6 separate regions of the Homo sapiens genome follow, and all the other regions are linked to region 1. Evidence: promoter capture Hi-C in 16 types of primary human blood cells and fetal thymus (Javierre and others, 2016). All regions are on one chromosome and are shown on one strand. Each heading gives the region's core, a stretch centred on a gene start or on the middle of the fragment in contact. The rest is flanking DNA. Distances are from core to core; before and after follow the strand shown.

Region 1 (3,988 bases), core at 1,489-3,988:
CGAGCCACGGAGCCCACCCTAAATCTGTCTCTTTTTAAAAATGGCAAATTTTGTGTTATGTATATTTTACTATAATAAAAATTATGGAAGGATTTTTTCTTTTAAAGTTAGTGGTTAGAAACAATCTTTTACTAAGCTCACAAATTCTGGGGGTCAGAAATTTGGGCAGGGCACAGTGGGGATGTCTTGTCTCTGTTCCATGATGGCTGGGTCTCAGCTGAGCAAGCTCAAACGCTGGGAGTGAATCAATGTCTGGGAGCTGGATTCACCTAAAGGCACTTTCATTTACAGGTCTGGGTTAACTCAAAAACTACAACTGTCTACTGGAGTACCACATGTGGTCTCTCCATGTGGTTTGGTTTCCTAACAGCATAGTGGACTCAGGGTAGCTGATATGGTTTGGGATCTGTGTCCTTACCCAAATCTCACCTTGAATTGTCATAATCCCCATGTGTTATAGGAGGGACCCAGTGAGAGGTAATTGAATCATACGGGCGGCGTTTTCCTGTGCTTTTCTCATGATAATAAGTCTCATGAGATCTGATGGTTTTATTAATTAATTAATTTATTTTTATTTATTTTTATTTTTTGAGACAGAGTCTTGATCTGTTGCCCGGGCTGGAGTGCAGCAGTGCGATTTCGGCTTACTGCAACCTCCGCCTCCTGGGTTCAGGTGATTCTCCTGCCTCAGCCTCCCAAGTAGCTGAGACTACAGGTATGCACCACCATGCCCGGCTAAGTTTTATATTTTTAGTAGAGACGGGGTTTCACTACGTTGGCCAGGCTTGTCTAGAACTCCTGACCTTGTAATCCAACTGCCTCGGCCTCCCAAAGTGCTGGGATTACAGGCATGAGCCACTGCACCCAGCTGAGATCTGATAGTTTTATAAAGGGGAGTTCCCCTGCACATGCTCTCTTCTTGCCTGCTGCCATGTAAGACATGCCTTTCTTCTCTTTTGCCTTCTGCAGTGATTGTGAGGCTTCCCCAGCCAACTGAAACTGTGAGTCCATTAAACCTCTTTTTCTTTATAAATTATCATGTCTTGGGTATGTCTTTATTAGCAGTGTGAGAACAGACTACCACAGTAGCCAAACTTTATATGGTGGCTCAGGGCTCCAAACATTAGTGTTCTACTGGTGGGCAGTGGGGGAGTGGGTGGGGGGTGTGGAAGTGGAGAAGTGGGTGTGGTGGTGGGGAAGCAAAACCTGCATCCTATTTATGACTTAACCTTGGAAACATCATTTCTGTCATACTTTATTGGCCAAAGCAGACCTACAACTACCCAGATTCAAGTTGGTGGGGGCGGGGGGGGGTGCTTTGATGGAGGAATATCAAGATCACGTTGCAGACAAACATGTGTGAAGGACTCTATTGTTGCAGCCATCCTTGAAAAATATTATCTGCCATATGGTCTTTCTAAAATGGGTTAAAAGCAAAGAAACCACAGAAGAATCATCTTACAGAAACAGAGCAGGGGGAGAAGTCTTAATGGACAAATAATCTGCCTACACAAACAATGAGCAATTTACTTCTGGGAGGATCTCTCCTCAGGCAGGGAGATTGCCAAGCGCATTAGGCTGAGTAGAGTTGGTGACAGAACTCATAGTTGTATCAGCTCCTCTGTGTGTGATCTGAGTAGGAAAGTATTTGACTACTGGGGACTCTAGCTTCATCTTTAAAACAAAGTGTTGTGAGAACCAAGTAAAATACTGTATAGAAAGATAAATGTGTTGCAAAAAGGTCCCCGAATAGAGCCCACAGGTGGACACCCCCCGTTTGACAATGCCACTGGGAAAGACCATGTGTACTGCCAGTTTATCCTTGCCACTGTTTCCCCATAGCAGCCACCTTCCTGTTTCTTTTGCTTGCCTCTCTCAGAGGTAGATGCATTGAGGGTAAATGACCAGGACAGGGCCACACAGCCAAGAGATCAAAACCCAGATTTTTCTGGGATGCTAGTTTGAGATTTTCCATTCTACAAACGTCCAGCCACTCACGAGTTCTAACAGATGACTGATCTTAGCTGAGAAGCATGACATAGATACAAGGGAGTCACACTGCCCGGGTTCATATCCCAGCTGCACCGCTTACTAGCAGTGTGACCTTTGGAAGGATCGCTGTTTTCCCAGGTGTAAAACGGAAATAAGACCTCCCACAAAGGGGTAAGTAATCACGTGATACGGCACTCAAAACAGCGCCTTCAACATAAGTAAGCCCTTTGTGTTTGCCAAGACTAAATCACTACTGCATAGTTAGTATATAATTGGTGCTAAATGTTTTTTTCTCACTTTTTTTTTTGGTGCTAAATGTTTTAAGGTGAGAAAGTAACATTTAGGGATGTAATGAGATGTAATGGTGGGATCTCCGTGAAACGACAAATTCATTTTGGAGAAAGCTTTTTAAAAAACGCAAACCACAAACCTCTGCCATTTGTCAGCTTGAAGTCTACGGAACTGCAAGCAAAATAAAGATTGGTGAAACTTTGCTTCTGACTGACCCCTACAGTCCCAAATATTTTCTTGGCCTTTACAAAGCCCGCAGGCATCGTCACATGCAGTCCTGAAAAGCCTTTTCTCTATACTTCACACAGCCCAGACCAGCCCACGTGGATTCCTCGCCCGGCTGCTTCCGCTTCCATTTTGTCCCCTCCTATTTCTCATTCGGCGCCTCAGAATGACGTCTGAAATGAGCGCCGACGCTGCCCAAACAGGAGCCTGCGCATGCGCTCTGCCCTGGCAGCGGCCCTGTGCAGATCCCTGAGCGTGTGGCAGCAGTGCGGTCGTGGTCCCTCCCTATGCAGCCTGGTTTCTAGCGTGACACGCCCTTGACTTGAGGACCATGAACCGCAGCCGCCAGGTGACGTGCGTGGCCTGGGTCCGCTGCGGCGTGGCCAAAGAGACACCAGACAAGGTGAGGCCTGGTCGCTGGGAGACAAGGGGAGCAGCGTCTTTACGGCACTGGGGGTCCGCCCAGCTGGGGGAACGTGGACCCGGAACTCGGGGCGTTGGCTGGTGCGACTGGCTGGGGTGAGGGCGGCTTTGCCCGGATTGTCGCGACTAGAGCTGCAGTTCAGAAGGTCTGGTTCGCCTGAGCCTGGAGAGTCAAGGGCCGCGCCTTCTCACTGTTCCCACCCTCAAGCCCAACCCCACTCCCAAATTCGCACGCACATGGACTTAGCGGGCCGGAAAGGGGTGGGCTGCTGTTTTTGGTGGGTAATACCCCAAAAGGCTTTTTGACAACACCACTAGCTTCACTAGCACCCAAGTGCATTTTCAAGCATAACTGGGAAGAGAGCATGAAAACTCCACTTTCCACTCTTGTGCTCCGTGTCTGAAGGAGTGAGGATGAATGTGGTGTAGAAAAACTGGTGTGGAGGCTAAGATGTCGTGAGGCTGGGAGATGAATAGGGAATTTCTTGCAGTAATCCAAGTGAGATGTTGATGGTAGCAGGGAGGATGAGAGGTAAATGTCTAACACATGAAAAACCTACAAGAGTTGGAGACTGAGACTGTAGCAGAGGTGACGATTACTTAAGTAATTTCCTCATTGGATACTAAGTGCTTTCTGTAGGCCAGGCATTGTTCAGGGTCCTGGGATAGGCATGAACAAAATAGAAAAAGTCCCGCCGGGCGCGGTGGCTCACGCCTGTAATCCCAGCACTTTGGGAGGCCAAGGCGGGCGGATCACGAGGTCAGGAGATCGAGAGCATCCTGGCTAACACGGTGAAACCCCGTCTCTACTAAAAATACAAAAAATTAGCCGGGTGTGGTGGTGGATGCCTGTAGTCCCAGCTACTCGGGAGGCTGAGGCAGGAGAATGGCGTGAACCCGGGAGGCGGAGCTTGCAGTGAGCCGAGATCGCACAGCTGCACTCCAGCCTGGGCGGGCAACAGAGTGAGACTCCGTCTCAAAAAAAAAAAAAAAAAAAAAAAAAAAAAAATAGAAAAAGACCCTGCCTTTATGGAGTCGACATGTGCACATATAGTAT
Region 2 (3,975 bases), core at 127-2,626, 1.0 Mb after region 1:
TACCATGCCGGGGGAAATGAACAACTTGCAATTTGCTTCGCACTCTGAATCCCACGTTTGCAACATGTAGAGCAAGCACTTTAGACACCACAAAACAAGGGCAGCCTACATTACGGCCAAATATAGGATGTGTTTCTAAATCGTGATGCAGTAAAGCCTACGATTCCTTTTCCAGCGTTCAAAATCCTTTGAACACTCCCAAAAAAGGATGCCAGGGCCAGCGCCTCCCTCCAAGAGGAAGCCCCTTTCTTCTCAGCTCTCACCGCAGCCTGCCACTTCCCCCAACACATTCAAATCATTTGAGAGACGGAGAGCTGGGGAGCGTGCGCCGGTGGGGACAGGCGGGAGAGCTCGGTTTCTGCATTCCCACCCTCCACGTCTGACCTCATCCTCAGTCATTTCGGCGCAGCGGGGCCCCACCTGCACCTCGCTCCTTTTTACTGCGTCCCTCGCCAGCTGCCCCGCTATTAGGGAAACACACCTCTGAATCACCCAGTTCACTCGGACACCCTGGGCCCCCGATCCGACAGCCTTCCTGCTTCGTTCCTCCCCTCCCAACCCCCAGCCAGTCCCAGCCCTCTGCTCCCTTGGCCGGGCTCAGCCTCTTCCCAAGCCGCCCCCACCCACATTACTCCAGCTCCAGCTCTGCCCCGCCCCGCCTGACCCCCAACCGAGATCTGCAGGGCCCAGAGCTGGTCTCGCACCCAAAGCCAGGAAACCCGCAGGCCAGGCGGCCGCCCTCGCCCCTCCCGACGCAGGGCCCAGCTCGCCCCGGCCCCACGTGAGCCCGGCCCCTACCCGCCCCCACCCACTCGTTCCCTGGGGCGGCCCAAACCCAGTCCCCAGGCCTGGAGCCCCCGGGCTCTACGCCTCGCCCGAAGCAGCCCTTCCCTCCCAGCACCTCGCCCAAGCAGGCGATCCCTGACCCCTAAAAGCCTTCCCTGGGCAGCCTCGTCCCACCTCGGCCCGCGGCTCCGCACCCGGCCAGGAGCGTTCCGGACCTCGAAAGCCTCCTCCCCACAGGGACCCTGCTTCACGCTCCCCACGCCACCTGGTTCGGTCCCCAACTCCCTTTCCCCGAGCCCCCGACAGCAGCCCCCGGCCCTAACCCCTTGCAACCCAGCCCGTGAACCCGCGCCCCGCGCGCCCACCCAGCACTGTCCCCTCCACCTAGCCCTGCCCCTCGCCCCGCCGGCTCCTGTCAGGCGGCGCAGGCACATGCTCAGAGGACAGGTCCGCCCGCCCGACTCGCTCTCAGGCTGCCCCCGCCGGGCGCGAGCCGCTCACCCGGGCCGAGGTGCCTGAGGCGCCGCCGCCGAAGTCCCCGCTGCAAAGCCGGGCGAAGCCTCCAACCGCTGCCGCCTCCAGCCTGGCACTGAGCGCCGTGCGGGGGAGGGGCGCGGGCAGCCGCCACCGCCCCCGCCACCGCGCGTAGGCCCCGCCCCCGCGCCGCGCGGGACCCAACCAGGGCTGCCGGGCCGCTGTGCGCCACGCCCACTTCCGGAGGGGAAGCCCGCTTCCCACCCCACGTTCCACGCCTCGCTACGCCCCCTCTGGTCGCACCGAGGGATGCAGGCGGTGCCCAAGCGCACGCCCCGCTCTCCAGTCATCTGAGTGGTAGAGGGCCACGCCCACAGGCGCCTCCGAGCAACGCCCACTGCTCCTTAGACCCCGGAGCGGGGTTCTTAGAGCCCCGCCCACTGACCCGCTAGGCTCTGCAAGGCCACGTCCCCTGGCTCCTCAAAGATTCCCCCAGAGCCCCTCAATACAGGAACATTAGCTCCTCTGAGCCCCGCGCACTGCCTATCCGAGTCCTTAAACCAGCCTCCTGCTTCCCTAAGCCCGGCTCCCCTCCCACTGCTTCAGAACTCGCCCAGCGGCCTCACAAAGCCCCGCCCCGTCTTCCAGAAGCCCCGCCCAAGGACCGCAACCCTATTCCTAGCATCTCAAGCCCCGCCCACTACCCCATCTCAACGTTTAAACCCCAAGCCCCGCCCCGAATTCGCGAATCCACGCCTCTGGCTCCCGAGGCTCCGCCCTGGCTCCGTCACACCCTACCACCACCTCCCTTGAGGACTGCCGACGTTCCAGCCCTCCCTGAACCGTCCATTGTCACATTCCTAGTGCAGAGTGGCCGCCCCTGGGCTGGGCCACACCCACGTAACCCCAAAGAGGGCCCGTGATTGACCCCATTTCGCAGGTGAGGGAATGGAAACTTCAGGGTTCCTCCCTTCCTTTCCCTGGCCAGAGTCCCTTAATAACTCGGCGGCCCAGGCCTGAAAGTCGGAGCACGGGAATTTGAGCCTCAGCTCTGCGGCCGTCAGACTGTGTGACCTGGGACAGTTCTCTTACCTCTTTGGGCCTGAGTCCCCTAATCTTCAGCATGAAGAAGTTGTCCTGTTAATAGCTAAAGTCCCTTTCTGAAACACCAAGCTCTGAAATACCGAGATTTGAGGAAACAGAGCCTGGGGAACCGAACCGACTGTGGGGTAGGGCTATTTACTTCCCAAAGCAAGGCATCTTTGCCATTCACAGGGGGATTTTTTATTTTAAGCGTCAGCCTCAGAAACGTGTGTTATTTAAATCAAGCTTGACCTGAACTAAGACAGCTATCACAGCAAATTATTTATCCTCTCTAAGGGTCAGTTTCTTTATCTGTAAAATGGGGATAACAGCCCCTCCCTCACAGGGTTCCATGAGATCATATTAGCAGCCATGATCGTGGCATTACTTTTTGCCATTAAAAGGAATGGCAAAAACCGCGATTACTTTTGCACCAGGATAATAGTAATATACTTAGAAGAGTTCCTGGCTTGTGATAAACGCTCGACAGTACCTGTTGCTGCTACTGCTGGGACTCAACAAAATGAAAGGATGGGTTTTATTTTGCCTTCAAGCAGCCACTCCTAATAGGAGGAATTCAGCACCCTTCCTGCAGTAAGATTTGCCACTCACTTTATTTAAATGAGATAAACGTGATGAAACGCCTACTGCAGTGCCTGCCATATGGTGAGGCTCAAAAACAATTCACTTGTTTTTGTTTGTTTGAGACACAGTCTTGCTCTGTCGCTCAGGCTGGAGTGCAGTGGGGCAGTCCACGGCTCACTGCAGCATGGACCTCCCGGGCTCAAGTAATCCTCCCACCTCAGCCTCCCACGTAGCTGAGACTACAGGCACGCGCCACCATGCCCAGCTAAATTCTTAACATTTTTCTGTAGAGATGAAGTCCTGCTATGTTGCCCAGGCTGGCCTCAAACTCCTGAGCTCAAGAGATCCTCCCACCTCGGCCTCCCAAAGTGTTGGGATTACAGGTATGAGCCACTGTGCCCACAATTCAATAGTTTTGAACAATAAAAGTTGTTTTTTTAAAATCCACTAGTTAATAAATTAAACAGGGGCATTGATAGCAGTGAGTTCTGAGTGCTTTGGGGAAAATGAAGATTGGTAAAGTGCTTTGAGTTCCTTTTTTTTTGAGACGGAGTCTTGCTCTGTCGCCCAGGCTGGAGTACAGTGGCGCGATCTCAGCTCACTGCAAGCTCCGCCTCCCAGGTTCACGCCATTCTCCTGCCTCAGCCTCCCGAGTAGCTGGGACTACAGGCACCCGCCACCACGCCCGGCTTATTTTTTGTATTTTTAGTAGAGACGGGGTTTCACCATGTTAGCCAGGATGGTCTCGATCTCCTGACCTTGTAATCCACCCGCCTCGGCCTCCCAAAGTGCTGGGATTACAGGCGTGAGCCACCGCGTCCGGCCGAGTTCCAACTGGAAACCACGGAGTAAGCTAGCTTATTCTTTGGAAACAGATTATTGCTAACATTTATCCATCACTTAGACATGCTAGGCACTATCTGAGTGCTTTACATGCAGAATCTTCTGAAATTGCTCAACAATCCTATGGCCACAGAAATAATTCTTTTTTTTTTTTCTTTTTGAGACGGGGTCTCACTCTTTTGCCCAGGCTGGAGAGCAGTGGCT
Region 3 (4,065 bases), core at 903-3,402, 1.4 Mb after region 1:
ATTCTGATTTAATTGGTGGGGGAAGGCATGTGAATTCTCACAGAGGGTCCGGTTTGCAGCAGGACTGGTGATTTCTTTCCAGGTGCCTTGTTTTGTTAGACCATGTGGTCACTTAATAATTTTTTTTGGGCCAGGTACAGTGGCTCATACCTGTAATCCCAGTGCTTTAGGAGGCAAGGCAAGAAGATCGCTTTAGGCCAGGAGTTCAAGACCAACTTGGGCAACATAATGAGACCTTGTCTTTAAAAAAAAAAAATTTTTTTTTTTTTAATTAGCCAGGGGTGGTGTGTGCCTGTAGTTCTAGCTACTTGGGAAGCTGAGGCAGGAGGATCATTTGAGCCCAGGAGTTCGAGGCTGCAGTGAGCTATGATCATGCCACTGCACTCCATCCAGCCTGGGCAACAGAGCAAGATCCTATTTCTAAAACAAAACAAAACAAAACAAAAAATGTAACTTGATACCTGTGACTTTCTGAAACTAACAGCTGTTTGAAGAAATATATTTCTATTACCGTTCTTGTGTTTGATGGAAAGAGTTTATGAATAACTTTGGTTTCAAGCCTTCCAATTATATTCTGGAAAATACCTGTGTCTTAAAGAGATAGTGTCTAGGGAGAACTGAATCACTGCAGAGTTCTTCACCTGTATGTGTGGGTATGTCTAGTCTTTTTGCAAGTAATGAATTTCATTAGAAAGATATTAAGTGCTTGTCATGAGCAAGCCCCTGTGCCAGAAACTCAATATAAATCATTTCATTTTCTCACCCATATGGTGAAGTAGTTGATGAGGACACTGAAGCTCAGCCATTTGCTCAAAGTCATGGCTAATGGAGGGAGGATTCAAACCCACATCAGCTTGATTTCAAAGCCTAATAGTCCTGCCACTGTCAACACCCTGCCTAGATCATGATTATTTGGAATCACTGGGAAAGAATTTTTTTTTCATGAAGTTAGAAGCCTAAGAATTTTTTTCAATGGAATTTTATAAAAATGTCCTTGAATCACAGATGGCTCTCCCTGGAAACATAGGTTTGTTTGAGAGTCACCTCTTTTATTGTCTTAATAAATAGACTAAGAGCCATCACAAGGGCTACTGTGGCTAGAGAACATATGACTCGGGCCGGGCATTGTGCAGGCATTTGACCTGCATTCCTTCACCCCGGTTCCTGTAACATGTACCTGGTGCTGTGGGGTTACAGCTGATAATGCTGAGGTTTCCAGAGCACATGCTTCCAAGTCCAGTGGAGAAAATCCCAAGAAGTCCAATATTCAATGACTGTTCCTTATTGCAAAATAAGCCCAGAAACAAAGTAGCTGTGAACAGGCTGCACCAGCCCCAGCAGCAATTTCCATTTAAACCATTTTGCACAGATCCCGTGCTCAGCGCTCTCGCCAGTTTCTCCACTTGCTGTTTAGTAAGGCCATCATTGTTGGCAGGAAGTGGGTTCCACCTTCCCTGTTGCCTGAGCACAATGTGCTCCTATGTGGTCTCCACTTTCCTGCTGCCTAGTTGGCTGGGCTTCTCCAGCTGGGCCTTGGAGGCGACCTTTGTCCCACATGCCAGCCCTCCCCACGTTGCAGAACACTATGTAACTGCAGCGTGTGCTGAATTTCCTCTTCTGTGCTCAACCCTAGCAAGAGCCAGTCAACCCTGAATGAGAATGTGGCAATGGAGCTGTTTTTTTCTTTTATCCCCAAGTCACAAGAAATTGGAAACATTCCATTAAGTGGCGTGATTTGAGAGGGTTTCGCCAAATCTTTTCAGGGGAGAGAAGCCAGGTGACCTGATAGCGATCACCTTCCCATTCACGGTTTTCAATGGGGGCTTGTTTCTCAAATGACCAACACCTGTAGGCAGTTAATTTTCAGCATGTCACAGGAGGGCCCAGATGACTTTCTGCCTACTGCTTACGACAACATGGACTTTAGATGCCTCATGGCTTCAACAGCTAAGAATTATGAAATAAAGCGAGTTATGGGATTAAAAGGCAGATAGCAGAACTCTCCCAGGAGTAGCCAGGGCTGCACAAGTGGTTTGACGTGGGATCTTTCTCATCTTTGCCCCGGGTTGTTGCTGCTTTGAAGGTTAAGTGCTCCAGGGATATTTTTAAACAGCAGGGGCTGATTAATCTAAAAGTGACATTTGCAGTCCCCAGAGTAAGCAGCTAGCAGGCTTAGATTCAGGCCCTCAGCAAACAAGGAACCTGGAAAATGTAACCCTGAATGCACGGTGGGGAGGACATGGCAAGAGAAAAGCGGCAGGAATAAAGTGGTAAGTCAGCTCGCCCCTCCCCGGGGTCCGGACCATTCTGCCAACGTCCAGGTAAATTCGAACCCAATGTATAGTGAGAGCAGACCCTGTCTGAAGGCATGCACTTGGGGTCCCCGGGGAAAAACGACTCCCGTCATGTTTGAAGGAAGCTAATCAGAAGAGCTCGAAATGTAACGCAGATGAAAGAGAAGGGCCTTTCTTTGCTTCTATAAATGGTGGTGTGGATCCCTGGACATGCTCCCATATAAGTTCCACAACGTTTTATAAACAATTCTGTTTTTTGCCTCCAAAGCTACTGTCTTAAGGAATAGTATTCTGTTTCTGTTTCCTCAAATGGTTGTTCTTTTTTTTTTTTTTTTTTTTTTTAAAGCAGACTAAGGCTGGGCACGGTGGCTCATGCCACCCAGCACCTTGGGAGGCAGAGGCAGGTGGATCACTTGAGGTCAGGAGTTCGAGACCAGCCTGGCCAACATGGCGAAACCCCATCTGTACTAAACACATAAAAATTAGCCAGATGTGGTGATGGGCACCTGTAATCCCAGCTACTTGGGAGGCTGAGGCAGGAGAATCGCTTGAACCCAGGAGGTGGGGGTTGCAGTGAGCTAAAATTGCGCCACTGCATTCCAGCCTGACTGACAGAGCAAGACTCTGTCTCAAAAAAAAAAAAAAAGAAAAGAAAAAGAAAAAAAGGAGACTAAGAGTAAAGCGTTTGTAGTGGTCCTATATCCTATATTTCTAGGAAGACATGACTTTCTTTCAATGTTGAAAAAATGCATTCCAAAATAATATGCAAGTTAAAAAGTCACTCAGCACCGTGCAAAAGTCTCCTTGCTGTTATTCCTGTCTAACCCTCCTCCTCCAGGTAGCCACTGTGCACATTTTGGTATAAACCCCCCAGACCTTTTATTCTGTACACTCACACTGTACACAACTCTCTCCCTCATGTCTATTGTGATTACTTTTATTTTTTAATATCAATGGGCATCCATATAGGTTGGGTGACCAACCATCCCACTTTGCCCAGGACCGGGGAATTCCCGGGACATGGGACTTGCAATTTAAAAACTGAAAGGTGAAGATATTATTATTATCATTATTATTTGAGATGGAGTGCTCACTGCAAGCTCCGCCTCCTGGGTTCACGCCATTCTCCTGCCTCAGCCTCCCAAGTAGCTGGGACTACAGGCACCCACTACCACGCCCGGCTAATTTTTTTTGTATTTTTAGTAGAGACAGGGTTTCACTGTGTTAGCCAGGATGGTCTCGATCTCCTGACCTCAAGTGATCCGCCCGCCTCGGCCTCCCAGAGTGCTGGGATTACAGGCATGAGCCACCGCGCCTGGCCAAAGATATCATTTTATAAATTGCATGTTTCTGCTAATAGTGACATGGAGTTCTTTACAAGATTTCTTTTTATGACTTCTCCAAGTTTTAAGTGGAAAGACCCAGCCAATCCTAATTCATGTGATTTAGAGATGAAAATATCTCTAATCTGTAACTTTCTTTCAGAAGCTCTTAAGAGTTTTATTTGCTCCTGCTCAGGTGTTGTGTAAACTCGCTCATACTTTCAACACCTTTAGGTCTGAGACAGAAATTTGAGTATTACATTACATGAGATACCCAGTCTTCATGGGGAAATAAACATTTTAATCTTTTGAAATGGAGGTTTCCTTGAAGTCTTATCCCAGTAGAAACTTTGACCTTGTTCTTTTTTTTTTTTTTTTTTTGAGACAGAGTCTCGTCCTGTCACCCAGGCTGGAGTGCGATGGCACAATCTCAGCTCACTGCAACCCCT
Region 4 (4,148 bases), core at 777-3,276, 1.4 Mb before region 1:
ATATCATCCCCTCTCTGGCTTCTATAATAAATGATAACAATTCAAATACCATTCGGAAAGCTGGATCACCAAAATGACAAATGGCCCCCACAACATTATTATCCCCATTTTATACCTGTGAGGATAAGGACATATGTATAATGAGTGGTGGAACTTGGCTGTCAACCCTCTGGTCTGTCTGAACCCAAAGCCCACCCTCTTTCCACCATACCACATTTCCTCATTATATACAATTATTTTGTACCTCAGTTGATTAATTCTTTGAAAATTTTGATCTACGTAATGCTTGTAACTTTTAAAAAGTCATTTTTTTAAACGTCCACATATCATCACAGAGGTCTTCCTTTAAATAAAGAATTCAGCTTCAGCATTAAAATTAAATTTATTTGTATAATTATGTTACACCGAGCATTTTTTTTTTTTTAGACTGAGTTTCACTCTGCCACCCAGGCAAAAGTGTAGTGGCGTGATCTTGGCTCACTGCAGCCTCTGCCTCCTGGGTTCAAGTGATTCTCCTGCCTCAGCCTCCCAAATAGCTGGGACTACAGGAGTGCGCCACCACGCCCAGCTAATTTTTTGTATTTTTAATAGAGACGGGGTTTCACCATGCTGACCAGGCTGGTCTTGAACTCCTGACCTCAGTTGATCCGCCCACCTCGGCCTCCCAAAATGCTGGGATTACAGGAATGAGCCACTGCGCCCAGCCTATACTGAGCTTTGTGGGAATTTACTGATAATATACATGCAGATGTACATGTAACATAAACAATGGCATGGCTTGGGATCCCTCTGAGGGAATTGGCCAGAAATGTTTCGTGTGTGCATGTGTGCGGGTGAATATATATCTATGTAAACAGCTTCATATTTTTGTATAAAGCTGCATTCCATTCTTGCTTTCTAGAAGGCACAGCCACCCCAGTATCTGGTCCAGGCACCCTTCTAGAGTAATGGAATGTGATTATAAATACTTTGGGCACTTAGTTGGTACAGAGCTGGTATGCTTGTTGATATGTTGTTATGGAAATTAGATAATTATGCCAATAGGTAATACTTTGCATGTGACACTGCACGTGTATATGTGTGTATTTGCGGAGAGAAGCCATGAAGTGAGTTCTTCTGGTTTCTATTCTTGACCTGCCAACTGAGTGAGTCACTGCTGAGTATCCCTTTAGTCAACATAAACCCTTAGTGCCCTAGTATATGACCTTCCTCTAGAATGCCCAGGAACTCAGGTAAAAGCTACTATTCAGGCATTTGAATGTTCAGAGCTCTCAATTTTTTTGTCTTCAAAATGTACGGCTGGGTGTGGTGGCTGATGCCTGTAATCCCAGCACTTTGGGAGGCCAAGGGGTGGATCACTTGAGGTCAGGAGTTCGAGACCAGCCTAGCCAACATGGTGAAACCCCATCTCTACTAAAAATACAAAATATTAGCCAGGCGTGATGGCACACATCTGTGATTCCAGCTACTCAGGAGGCTAAGGCAAAAGAATCGCCTGAGCTCGGGAGGCAGAGGTTGCAGTGAGCCGAGATCATGCCACTGAACTCCAATCTGGCTGACAGAGTGAGACTCTGTCTCAAAAAAAAGAAACAACAAAAAAAAGGTAGTATAATTATTAAAGTCCCATATAACTTTGAGAAAGGACATTTGTCCAGTTTATCATCAAAGAAAGGGAAGGTTTTAGAGGTCAGAGTTTGGGGCAAAAAACATGTTTAAAATGAAAGCAAACTCCATGCACTTTGGCTATCGAAGAATAGGGCTTGAGGAGAAGAACTTAAAAAGTAAAGATCAATATTCCCCCACCCAGCATTAATAATTTTGACATATCATAGTGAGGGACTTTTTGTAAATCTATTCTTTCATATATTTTACATGAAAAGCTCCATTTGTTGTCATGGCTTTCTTAAATATGAATAAAAAAGAGATGGGAAATTTGCTTATTGTGCAGTATCAATAGCCTATCTTCACTAAGGTATATTTAGGAGGACATACAATAATAAGAATAGTTGCATTGTATGGCAGTGTGAAATAGACTAGTAATATATGAATGACATTCTCATTGTAAAAGAAATAAGCTGCTTGAATGTGTACGGAATAAACCAGGAACTAACTTGCCTAAATAGCCTTCTAAACGGTTGAGATTCTTTTTAGTCCATTTCTATGTATTTCATATACACACAATGCATATGTACTGTCTCTAGTGTAAGCTCTCTCTAGCATAAATCGTGTCACCCCATAATCAGTGTTCTGTAACTCATGTTTTCATGTTGAATCGTGTACCTAAAAAGTCACATTTCTTAATCCTTCCTTTATGTTTTCTGGAGATTGCATCTTATTTTAGTAGCTCTTCCTCATGCCCATTTGACAATTTCATTTGATTTTAAAACTGAGGGCCTGTGTTCATCCATGAACACTTTAGAAAAGCAATCATTTAGAAAATGGTTGATTGCCTGCTGGCCTGGAGATGAGCTAAAGAGAGTGACTGGCTTGGTCAGAGGTCTGAGCCATCACCTGTTTGGCCTCCCATAGGTGTTCCTTTGAGCTTCAACTCTCTTTGGCCCCTCCCACTTCCTGCCCCAAAGTTGTCTTCACTGCTGGTTCTCACTCTTTCTGCTTCCCAGGGGACAACAGTGGTGCCCAGGTAAGAGGAAGGGGCCCAGGGTGGGGTGTAGGGAGCACTAAGAATATTTGTCTTTTTAGTATGTGACAGGGTCAGGGACTGGGCAGTGCCTAAATGTGAAGGTACAGGCAATTGAAATGAGAAATAACTGTTAATTTTTTTACTAATTCAGTTCAGTGGAGTCAAAAGAAAACTGGTTTTGGTGCTTTGGAAAATTGTTCAAGCATCAATTAATAGTCAAAACTGGTCAATTATCTAAATCTACCTTATCTTCCAAATCACAGGATATAGAACAAAAAAAAATTGCCTAAAAGGTGTGGTTAATTTTTTTTAATAGACCTTATTTTTAGAGCTCACAGTAAAATTGAGTAGGAGGTATGCAGTTAATTTTTGAACATTCAGGGCCTAATTCTCTAGTTGGTGTATTAGCCAAATTCATTTTCTTCTTTTTGCTTTCTATTGTATTTTCCCCCTCACTGATTTTTGGCCCTTTCTGTAGCACCTGAAGATGGACAGGGGAGAGAAAAGAAGTGGGATTCCTTTGAAAAACATTTTTTTTAATTTAATTTTTAGTTTAAAATTTTTTTTGAGACAAAGTCTCGCTCTGTTGCCCAGGCTGGAGTGCAGTGGTGAAATCTCAGCTCACTGCAACCTCCGCCCCCCAGGTTCAAGCAATTCTCCTGCCTCAGCCTCCCAAGTAGCTGGGATTACAGGTGTGTGCCACCACGCCCAACTAATTTTTTGTATTTTTAGTAGAGATGAGGTTTTGCCATGTTGGTCAGGCTGGTCTCAAACTCCTGACCTCAAGTTATCCACCTGCCTCGGCCTCCCAAACTGCTGGGATTATAGGTGTGAACCACCATGCCCGGCCATTTTTTTTTGTGAGACCAGGTTTCACTCTTGTTGCCCAGGCCGGAGTGCAATGGTGCAATCCTGGCTCACTGCAACCTCTGCCTCCTGGGTTCAAGTGATTCTCCTGCCTCAGCCTCCCAAGTATTTGGGATTAGAGGTATGCACACCATGCCTGGCTAATTTTTTGTATTTAGTAGAGACAGGGTTTCACTATGTTGGTCAGGCTGGTCTCGAACTCATGACTTCAGGTGATCCACCCACCTCAGCCTCCCAAAGTGCTGAGATTACAGGCCTGAGCCACCATGCCCAGCCCATTTTTTTGCTTTTTGTTTTTGTTTTTTTCAATTACAATGGAGTCACATCTTACAGGAGGGGTTAGGCTCTTAAGGAAGACCATGAGGTCAAAGTGCAGTGAAAATTACTCTTGAAAATTTTTTAATGAGCCATAAGACCTGGGATACACCAAGTTTTTGTCGTTTTTTGTTTGTTTGGGGCTATTTCTTTTCTTCCAGCATTGAAACAGACATAAGTTTCTTCAAGTGAGCACTGGTTGAAATAATTGATTGGCACTTAGGGGCAGGAAGATAAGCACCTTTAACCACTAGACTCATATTCTGTGTGGGGAGATCAGGACCAGTTACATAATTTGCCAGGTCCAGTGCAAAATGAAAATGCA
Region 5 (4,208 bases), core at 660-3,159, 1.3 Mb before region 1:
AACATGCATTATGTTATTTAATCCTCTGAAATAAGTACTATTTTCACCCCCATTTTGCCAGAGAGGCCCAAAGATGTTAAGTAAATAGCCTTGCATTAGAAGCCTGGTAGTGGCTAATCTGGAATTTGGACTCTTGTCAGTCTGACTCGAGTCTTCATCCCTAACTGCTATCGGACCGCTTCTCCAGAGAGCTGAAGAAATAAGCCTGGGAGATTTCTATTTCTTATCTGAATTTACACAGCTATGAAGTGAACAGTGCTATAATTCCAGCCTTCTGATTGAAGAATAACAGTTCCTCTTCCTGCACTCTGTATCCAATCCACCATCACCTCTAAAAAGTCCTGAGTTCTTAATCTATGCATATCTGAAACTTCATTCCCACCGTTTTCCAGCCCAGAACGACTGTCCTCTCTTACTTCCTAACTGGCCTACCTGGCACCTGACTTGTCCCAATCCAGTCTGTTCCTTGCTCTGCAGCCAGAGCTGTCCGTTTAAACACACAAACATGGTTATGTTGCTCCCTTGGTTAAAGTTCTTCAATCTCTGCCTATTGCTCTTAGGGCAAAATCTAGTGTTTACCATGTTTGTAATAAATTTCCTCAGTCTGACCAGTGCTTACTTCTCTAGTCTCTTTTCCCATGGTTCCCCCCTCTCCCTCCCCTGAGATCTTTCTACTCTGCTCAGTTTCTTCTGGATCGCTCTCCCCTTCCTATTTGTAGATTAAATCCCACATATCTATAATATAACTTCCCTAGGAAGGCCTTTCCTGATTCTCCCAGAAGATGGTAGATCTCTGCTACTTGCTGCCATTTCCTTTTAAATTGAGATATTAAAATATTTACTTAAACTTTCCAACTTCAGTGTTTTCGCTGCAACTTTTTCTAGTTAGGAGCTCAGTTTTACTTGAACTGGCCATGCCTGGTGTGTATTTTTTTGTGCTTATGGTAGCACAGCAGCATGGTAGTATGGTAGAAACAACACAAGCTTTGGAGCCAATTAATCAGTTACTTGTTGAATAAATATTTGTCAGTGTTACTGAGTACTTACCTGGTGGTGTATTATTCACAGGGTTTATACAAGTTCAAAAAATGTGTTTTCTGCCTCCCAGTGTGTTATAGGCTTATAGAGAGAGACGTGTAAGCAAGTGGAATAACATGCAATAGGTACTGTGATACAAGTAGGCGAGGGGTATTTTGGTATTACAAATGGTAGCTAGGATGTGATGCCTGAACTGAGTTTGCCAGATGTGGATGAAGTGTGGTGGTGCGGAAGCATTCCAGATAGAAGGAGGAGGCGTAGGCACAAGTACAGCTGCAAGCACAGCATATGATGTATGCCTCGCTGTGGAGTTAAGACATGGTGAAGAGGGTGGGGAGGCACTGAAGAGTTGTAGAGAATGAGGTGCTCAGCTGTGCACATGAGGACATGTACACTGGCTTTAGTGCTGAGCATTGAAAGGGACGAGCAGGAAGAGTAGTAAGGAAGTATTGCCGCAGACCAGCTGAAAGATTATGAGGGCCTCAACTGGCACAGGAGCAGAGGATAAATGCGAGGAAGGTTAAAAGGAGGTCGACTCAGTAGAATTTTTGTTTTCCTGTTGATTAAGAAGAGTCAGAAAGTTAGGACTCCCGGGTATCTAATTTGGGATTGACTGGGATAAATGGTGATATTCATTGAGATTGAGAATGGAGCTGGGGGAAGATTTAATTTTGGACATACTGATCTTAAGTAGCCTCTGAGGCTGTAAGGTATCACTGCCCAGTCAATAGTTGGAGGGGACAGGCCCATACCCAGTAGCTTACTGCAACAGTGATATTCACTCACTCATTTATTTATTCAGTATTTATTGGAGTCTTTTATGTGCCAGGCACTGTGGTAACAGGATAGACAGGGTCACTGCCCTTGAAAGAGCCCACATTTGGAACTGGGGGGCTGTGGGATGAGATGGGGGAAGCTAAACAACACTTTCAAACAGTGTTGTTTGAAATCCTCCATTCCCAGCCCTACTTGAGAAAAGACATCGCCAGGGATAGAACTTTGAAGAACACCAAAATTTGCAGGGTGGCAGAGAAAAAGAGGTGTGACAAGGCCCGGCCGGAGGAAGGAAAGACATAAGAGAATGATACCACAGAGTGTTATAAGACAGTGATCGGCATGGCCAAATACTGTGGAAAGGGAATGTGAGGGGGCATCAAGGGAGGTCTTTTGAAGTAGCAGCCTTGGTGACCTCTGTCGAGCTCTTTCACTGGCAGGTAGGTCAGAGTCCTGACTATAACGGAATGAAGGAGTGGGAAGTGAGGAACAGAGAAGCTAAATATGGAGTAATTTGGGAGAGATCGTAAGCTGAAGGGCAGGGAAGAAAGTAGTCAGAGGAGCTGCTGAGTCAAGAAAGTTTTAAATTTTTTTTTTAATGGGAGGATTTGAATACTCGTTTTAAATAGAACAGGTTGAATATCAAGGACTGAACTGGGGCAAGGTTTCCAGTCTTCAGGAGAAGGTTGGCAGGATTGTGTCTGTGGCGGAAGGGTTAGCCTTAGACCAAGGAATGGATGGTCCTTCCTTTGAAGTGGGAGGAAACGAGTATAAGAAGGGGTGTAGAGAGAGGAATTTGAAGATGTGGGAGTATTAGCTCATAGGGCTGCCGTAACAAAGTAACCACAAACTAGGTGGCTTAAACAACAGAAATTTGTTTTCTCATAGTTCTGGAAGTTAGAAGTCTGAGATCAGGGTGACAACAGAGCTGGCTCCTTCTGAGGGCTATGAGAGAGGATCTGCTCTGGGCCGTCCCCTACTACAGGTGTTTGCTGGCAATCTTTGGCATCCCTTGGCTTGCAGAAGCTTCACTGAGACCTCTACCTTCATCTTCACATGGCATTGTCCCTGTGTGCATCTCTATGTCCAATTTCTCCTTTTTTATAAGGACACCAGTTGTATTGGATTAGGGCTCACCTTAATGACTCATTTTACTTAATCACCTTTGTCAAGACCCCATCTTCAAAAACAGTCACATTCTGAGATACTGGGGATTAGGACTTTAGCATATGAATTTTGAGAGGGACACAATTCAACCTATATCATTGTCATTCTTCTATTTTTAAATTTAGGTGTAATTTATATAATAAAATGTATGGATACTAGATATTCAGTTACATTGGTTTTATAGTTATGTGCTCTATGTGGACATTGCATCACCCCAGAAAGTTCCCTTATGACCCTTTTCAGTCTATCCCCCCAAGCACCTTTTGATTTCCGTCATCATAGATTAGCTTTGCCTGCCTCTCTTGTTTTTGACTATACCCAGGGGTCTGCCACCTTCCCTGGCCACTCCTCGGTCTCCTTTGCTGGAGCTGCCTCCTGCTCCTCCTCTCTGATTGTTGGATTATTCTTGGTTGGTCTCACTTTGTGGAACTCTTCTCCATCTACATTCCATAGGTGATCTCATCCATCACGTGCCTTTAATTGCCATCCACTTGTTAATCTCTTCCTAGTTTATATCTCCAGGCCACTCCATTCCCGAATTCAAGACTCATTTGTTGCCTCCTTGACATTTCCACCTGAATGTCTAATGGAGATCTCAAGCTTAACACACCCAAACCAAATTTCTAGTAGCCCCTCCACACCTAAACCTGCTATTCCTACAATGTTCCTCGCCTCCATCAATTTTAACTCTATCCCTCTAGTTGCTCAGGCAATGTAGGAAGCAATCACCATATGTGTCATCCTTCTGTAGCCCTGAGATGAGCTCTGACCAGACAGTAGTTGAGAGAGAATGGGAGGGAGAAAGAACTCCCTTTGGGTCTTGAGACCCAGCTCTCCCACCAGACTCTCTGAGCCTTATTTTCCTTTTCTCAAACTGGCAAACTTCACTTAGGAAGTGTCATGAGAATAAAATAAAGGATTGAAAAGTGCTTAAAATCTTGAGTCATCAGGAAGAGATTAAGTTATATTCTGTTTAGGAAACCTGTAGTGTATGTATGTATGTGTATACATATTTATATGCATATGCACACATGTGATTTCCATAAAAATGTTTAAAAATTATTCTTTTTGTTTTGATTTACTTTCCTTTGCTTATTTTGGAACATTAAAATAACTTATGAAAGTACTGTTGCTGGTACAGAGTTCTGATATTCTTCTTGTTTTGGCTCACAGGAAAAATGGAGGCTGCTTCCAGCATTTTTAAAGGTAATTGTTTCACATTTAATAAT
Region 6 (3,665 bases), core at 537-3,036, 1.4 Mb after region 1:
CATGGCGCCAATCCGCGCGCCGCAGGCCCTCCTGGCTCGGTGCGCTGTCCAATCAGAGGGGAGAGGGGGCGGGACCCAGAGGGAGGTTTTTTGCCGCGAAAAGACCACGTGGGGACGCGGTGGGGCGGGTCTGGCGGGGGCGGGGCACCTCTGTGCAGGGTTCCCAGTCACCGCGACGCTCCTCGGGAAGCCATAGGGCGCCTCCCAGCCCGTCTCCCCGCTCCAGTTTAGAACCTAATTCCCAATTCCCGGACCGGGCCCAGCCCTGGGCTCTTACTGTCCGCTTTTGCTGGGACCTGTTCCACAAATGGGCGTCTTCTGCCTTGGGCCGTGGGGGTTGGGCCGGAAGCTGCGGACGCCTGGGAAGGGGCCGCTGCAGCTCTTGAGCCGCCTCTGCGGGGACCACTTGCAGGCCATCCCAGCCAAGAAGGCCCCGGCTGGGCAGGAGGAGCCTGGGACGCCGCCCTCCTCGCCGCTGAGTGCCGAGCAGTTGGACCGGATCCAGAGGAACAAGGCCGCGGCCCTGCTCAGACTCGCGGCCCGCAACGTGCCCGTGGGCTTTGGAGAGAGCTGGAAGAAGCACCTCAGCGGGGAGTTCGGGAAACCGTATTTTATCAAGGTAAATATGGAAATGCACCTTCCATAAGGGTAAATGTGGAGGCTGCCGGCCCTTTTGTCTTGTTAGTGTAGCCGGCCAAGTTCATGTTTCCGTAGGCTTAGGTTGTACCCCCTTCAACCTCCTTTACTCACAAAGGGGGTAAAAGAAAGCCATGATGTTTCACTCTGCAGCTTTATATTGGTTAAAGTTGTTAACGACCCGCGAGATGATATCATGGATTCATTTAAGTCACATAGTCTATTGTCCAGGAAAGGCTGGCGTAGTAAAATCACCAACCATCCTGAATGAAACCTGGCTTGAGCTTTAAAAAGCCGAGAGGAGTGGCACTGTCAGGACCCAGCCCAGAGAAAGAGGCAAGGAATTGACCTGATTGAACCACTTAGGTGGGGGGGCAGGCACTGTTTTTGTTTGTTGTTTTTTAAAAGAATTTGGACATAACATGACAAAGAACTAATGATGTTCCAAATAACTTGCACTAGAAGCTTTCTTATTGAATTCTTATGGTTTCCAATGAGAATCTGATTTTAAGTCTAGTTTATCTTTAAATCAGCTAATGGGATTTGTTGCAGAAGAAAGAAAGCATTACACTGTTTATCCACCCCCACACCAAGTCTTCACCTGGACCCAGATGTGTGACATAAAAGATGTAAGTACAACTTGTTGATAATTTTTATTGGGGAGAAGGAGTCAAATAGTATTTTTAAATTAGGGACACTGGAGTTAAGCCACAGTCCATCATTCAGTAGTAAATAAAACACTGAAATCCCGAGGTTTGGCTGACTGTATTTCAGCCTGTATTTACTCTTTTTAATGTTTACCACGTGGTATTTATGTGGCAAAAAGGAAAACTATGTACATCCTGTGCTCTTATTTCTTGTATTTTTTTTAAATCCTGAAACTAACCTCCCGCGGTGTCAGATGTTATGGTGGTGGTGAAGTTCAAACTGACACACAAAGCAGTTAAATCTTTTGCAGCTTGTTATAGTCAACCCCACCTTGACCTGACCACACTGCCTTATAGTTAGCACTTTCAAGCTCTTGACTTCTGGCCTGAACAGTTTTGTGGTTCTGTTATCAGATCCCTTTGCTTTAGTTTGTCTTATATAACAGTTGCTGGTTGGCGGCTCTCATCCATCTTGTGTTCAGAAGTTCGTGGGGCTGGGCACGGTGGCTCATGCCTGTAATCCCAGCACTTTCGGAGGCCAAAGTGGGAGGATCATTTGAGGTCAGGAGTTCAAGACCAATGAAACCTGGTCTCTCCTAAAATACAAAAATTAGCCGGGCATGGTGGCGCACGCCTGTAATTCCAGCTACTTGGGAGGCTGAGGTGGGAGAATCGCATGAGCCCAGGAGGCGGAGGTTGCAGTGAGCTGAGATCACACCACTTCACTCCAGCGTGGGCGACAGAGCCAGACCCTGTCTCAAAACAAAAAAAAAACCGTGGCTTCTCACTGTTGAACTATGAAAGCAGAGCAACCCTCTTTAAATAGGGCCACGTCCTACCTCTCAGCCTTACCTCCACCTCCCACTCTCCCACTCCAGAGTTGGACAGTGTGGCAAACCCCTCCCCACTTCTGTCTCTTAAAAATCAAGTAGATGCCTCTGTGGCACCTCCTTGAATTGAAGTCCGTTGCCTGCCACCTCTGTGATCCAGTTTTCCTCTGAGCTGCTACGATGCATTTAGCACCTGCTGACACTGGACTTTTAGGTTTCTTACCCGTTTTCCTCCCCCGTTTTGTAAACTGGGGCAAGAATCTTGTGATTTAATGAATATCTGTGAAATGACATAGAAGTGAAATAGGTGAATAAATCATCTTGATAAGGCAGCCACACCTAATACTTAGAAAATCTCGTAAGCTTAATTTTAGAGTAAGAATTTAGAATCTAGCTCTTTGGTTTTGAAGCTAAATTAAATCCTATTAAGATCAATACTAATTTGCTTCTTGTTTGAATGCCCTATTCTGAATACCAGTAATCAGTATAAACAGGGAATATTAAAAGGAATATTTTGAGGGAATGCTCAAAAACCAGTTTCAAACCTATGAGGATCAGATGGGCCAGCAGGGCTTCTTGACAGACCAGCATTGGGAGAGTTGTTTCACAAGAGAATATGTTGGCATGGTGTGAACACCAAGGGGAGGGACAAGAGGTCCCCAAAAGCCTCCTGGTCATGGAACATCTGGAGCTGGATTCTGAAAGATAGAGTATGTCAGCTGTGGAGGAAGATTCTAAGAACGCAATGGCAGAAGCTTGAGAATGAAGACTAGGTGGGTGGGCCCTGGATGGGAAGGACGAGGCGGCCTATGTTTCAACACCTCCCGTGACAGGAACTTCATTTCATTTCATTGTCTCTTGCCACCTACTCCCATGGCCCTTTTGATCTGACCTCATTCTCTTCTGGCTCCACCTGTTAGAGGATATAGGGGAGCAGACACCCTCATATGCTGCTGGTGGGAAATCTGAATTGCTTTTTTTTTTTTTTTTTTTTTTTTTTTTTGAGATGGAGTGCAGTGGTGCAATCTCGGCTTACTGCAACCTCCACCCCCTGGGTTCAAGCGATTCTCCTGCCTCAGCCTCCCGAGTAGCTGGGACTACAGGTGTGCGCCACCACACCCAGCTAATTTTTGTATTTTTAGTAGAGATGGGGTTTCACCATGTTGGCCAGATGGTTTCGATATCTTGACCTCGTGATCTGCCTACCTCGGCCTCCCAAAGTGCTGGGATTACAGGCGTGAGCCACCATGCCAGGCCCTAAATTGCTTTAATTCATCGAAAAGTAACTGGGGGCTAGGCACAGTGGCTCATGCCTGTAATCCCAGCATTTTGGGAGGCCGAGGAGGGAGGATCCCTTGATCTCAGGAATTTGAGACCAGCCTCAGCAACATAAGGGAGGCCGTGTGTCTACAAAAAGTAAAAAAAAAATTAGGTGGGCATAGTGGTGCACTCCTGTGGGCCCAGCTACTCTGGAGGCTCAGGTGGGAGGACCACTTGAGCCCAGGAGGGCGAGGCTGCCATGAGCTGTGATGGCACCACTGCACATCAGCCT

Evidence for each region. Contacts are between HindIII fragments. The CHiCAGO score rates a contact against its expected background, and 5 or more counts as called.
Region 2: the fragment with the promoter of CORO1C here is called in contact with the fragment with the promoter of PWP1 in region 1 in 1 of 17 cell types (naive CD4 T cells); the score reaches 5.3 in naive CD4 T cells.
Region 3: a contact is called between the fragment with the promoter of ACACB here and the fragment with the promoter of PWP1 in region 1, in 1 of 17 cell types (total B cells). The highest score is 6.4, in total B cells.
Region 4: a fragment that was not itself captured here is called in contact with the fragment with the promoter of PWP1 in region 1 in 1 of 17 cell types (fetal thymus); the score reaches 5.8 in fetal thymus.
Region 5: a fragment that was not itself captured here is called in contact with the fragment with the promoter of PWP1 in region 1 in 1 of 17 cell types (total CD8 T cells); the score reaches 6.3 in total CD8 T cells.
Region 6: a contact is called between a fragment that was not itself captured here and the fragment with the promoter of PWP1 in region 1, in 4 of 17 cell types (naive CD4 T cells, fetal thymus, total CD8 T cells and 1 more). The highest score is 10.6, in naive CD4 T cells.

The regions. Positions count from the first base shown.
Region 1 is chr12:107,683,061-107,687,048 of GRCh38, forward strand. PWP1 (PWP1 homolog, endonuclein) reads left to right here and starts at 2,739. Exons shown (of 15, transcript NM_007062.3): 1 at 2,739-2,911. The coding sequence starts at 2,840. RefSeq lists a silencer at 1-118 and enhancers at 2,548-2,807, 3,028-3,077. The HindIII fragment of the contact is 3,419 bases long and covers 2,395-3,988 here.
Region 2 is chr12:108,730,142-108,734,116 of GRCh38, forward strand. CORO1C (coronin 1C) reads right to left here and starts at 1,377. Exons shown (of 11, transcript NM_014325.4): 1 at 1,288-1,377. It overlaps LOC105369969 (a long non-coding RNA gene), which reads left to right and starts at 3,268. Exons shown (of 3, transcript XR_945328.4): 1 at 3,268-3,311. RefSeq lists silencers at 656-935, 1,126-1,635 and an enhancer at 1,248-2,051. The HindIII fragment of the contact is 3,828 bases long and covers 1-2,587 here.
Region 3 is chr12:109,114,435-109,118,499 of GRCh38, forward strand. ACACB (acetyl-CoA carboxylase beta) reads left to right here and starts at 2,153. Exons shown (of 53, transcript NM_001093.4): 1 at 2,153-2,270. The HindIII fragment of the contact is 11,769 bases long and covers 1-4,065 here.
Region 4 is chr12:106,295,332-106,299,479 of GRCh38, forward strand. It overlaps a transcript of TCP11L2 not described here. Among named protein-coding and RNA genes, the nearest start is that of TCP11L2, 5.3 kb to the right of the region's middle. The HindIII fragment of the contact is 4,525 bases long and covers 1-4,148 here.
Region 5 is chr12:106,359,718-106,363,925 of GRCh38, forward strand. It overlaps POLR3B (RNA polymerase III subunit B), which reads left to right. Exons shown (of 28, transcript NM_018082.6): 2 at 4,153-4,185. Among named protein-coding and RNA genes, the nearest start is that of POLR3B, 4.1 kb to the left of the region's middle. The HindIII fragment of the contact is 1,854 bases long and covers 983-2,836 here.
Region 6 is chr12:109,098,020-109,101,684 of GRCh38, forward strand. UNG (uracil DNA glycosylase) reads left to right here. Exons shown (of 7, transcript NM_080911.3): 2 at 413-619; 3 at 1,170-1,265. Among named protein-coding and RNA genes, the nearest start is that of UNG, 2.3 kb to the left of the region's middle. RefSeq lists a silencer at 1-146. The HindIII fragment of the contact is 1,375 bases long and covers 1,100-2,474 here.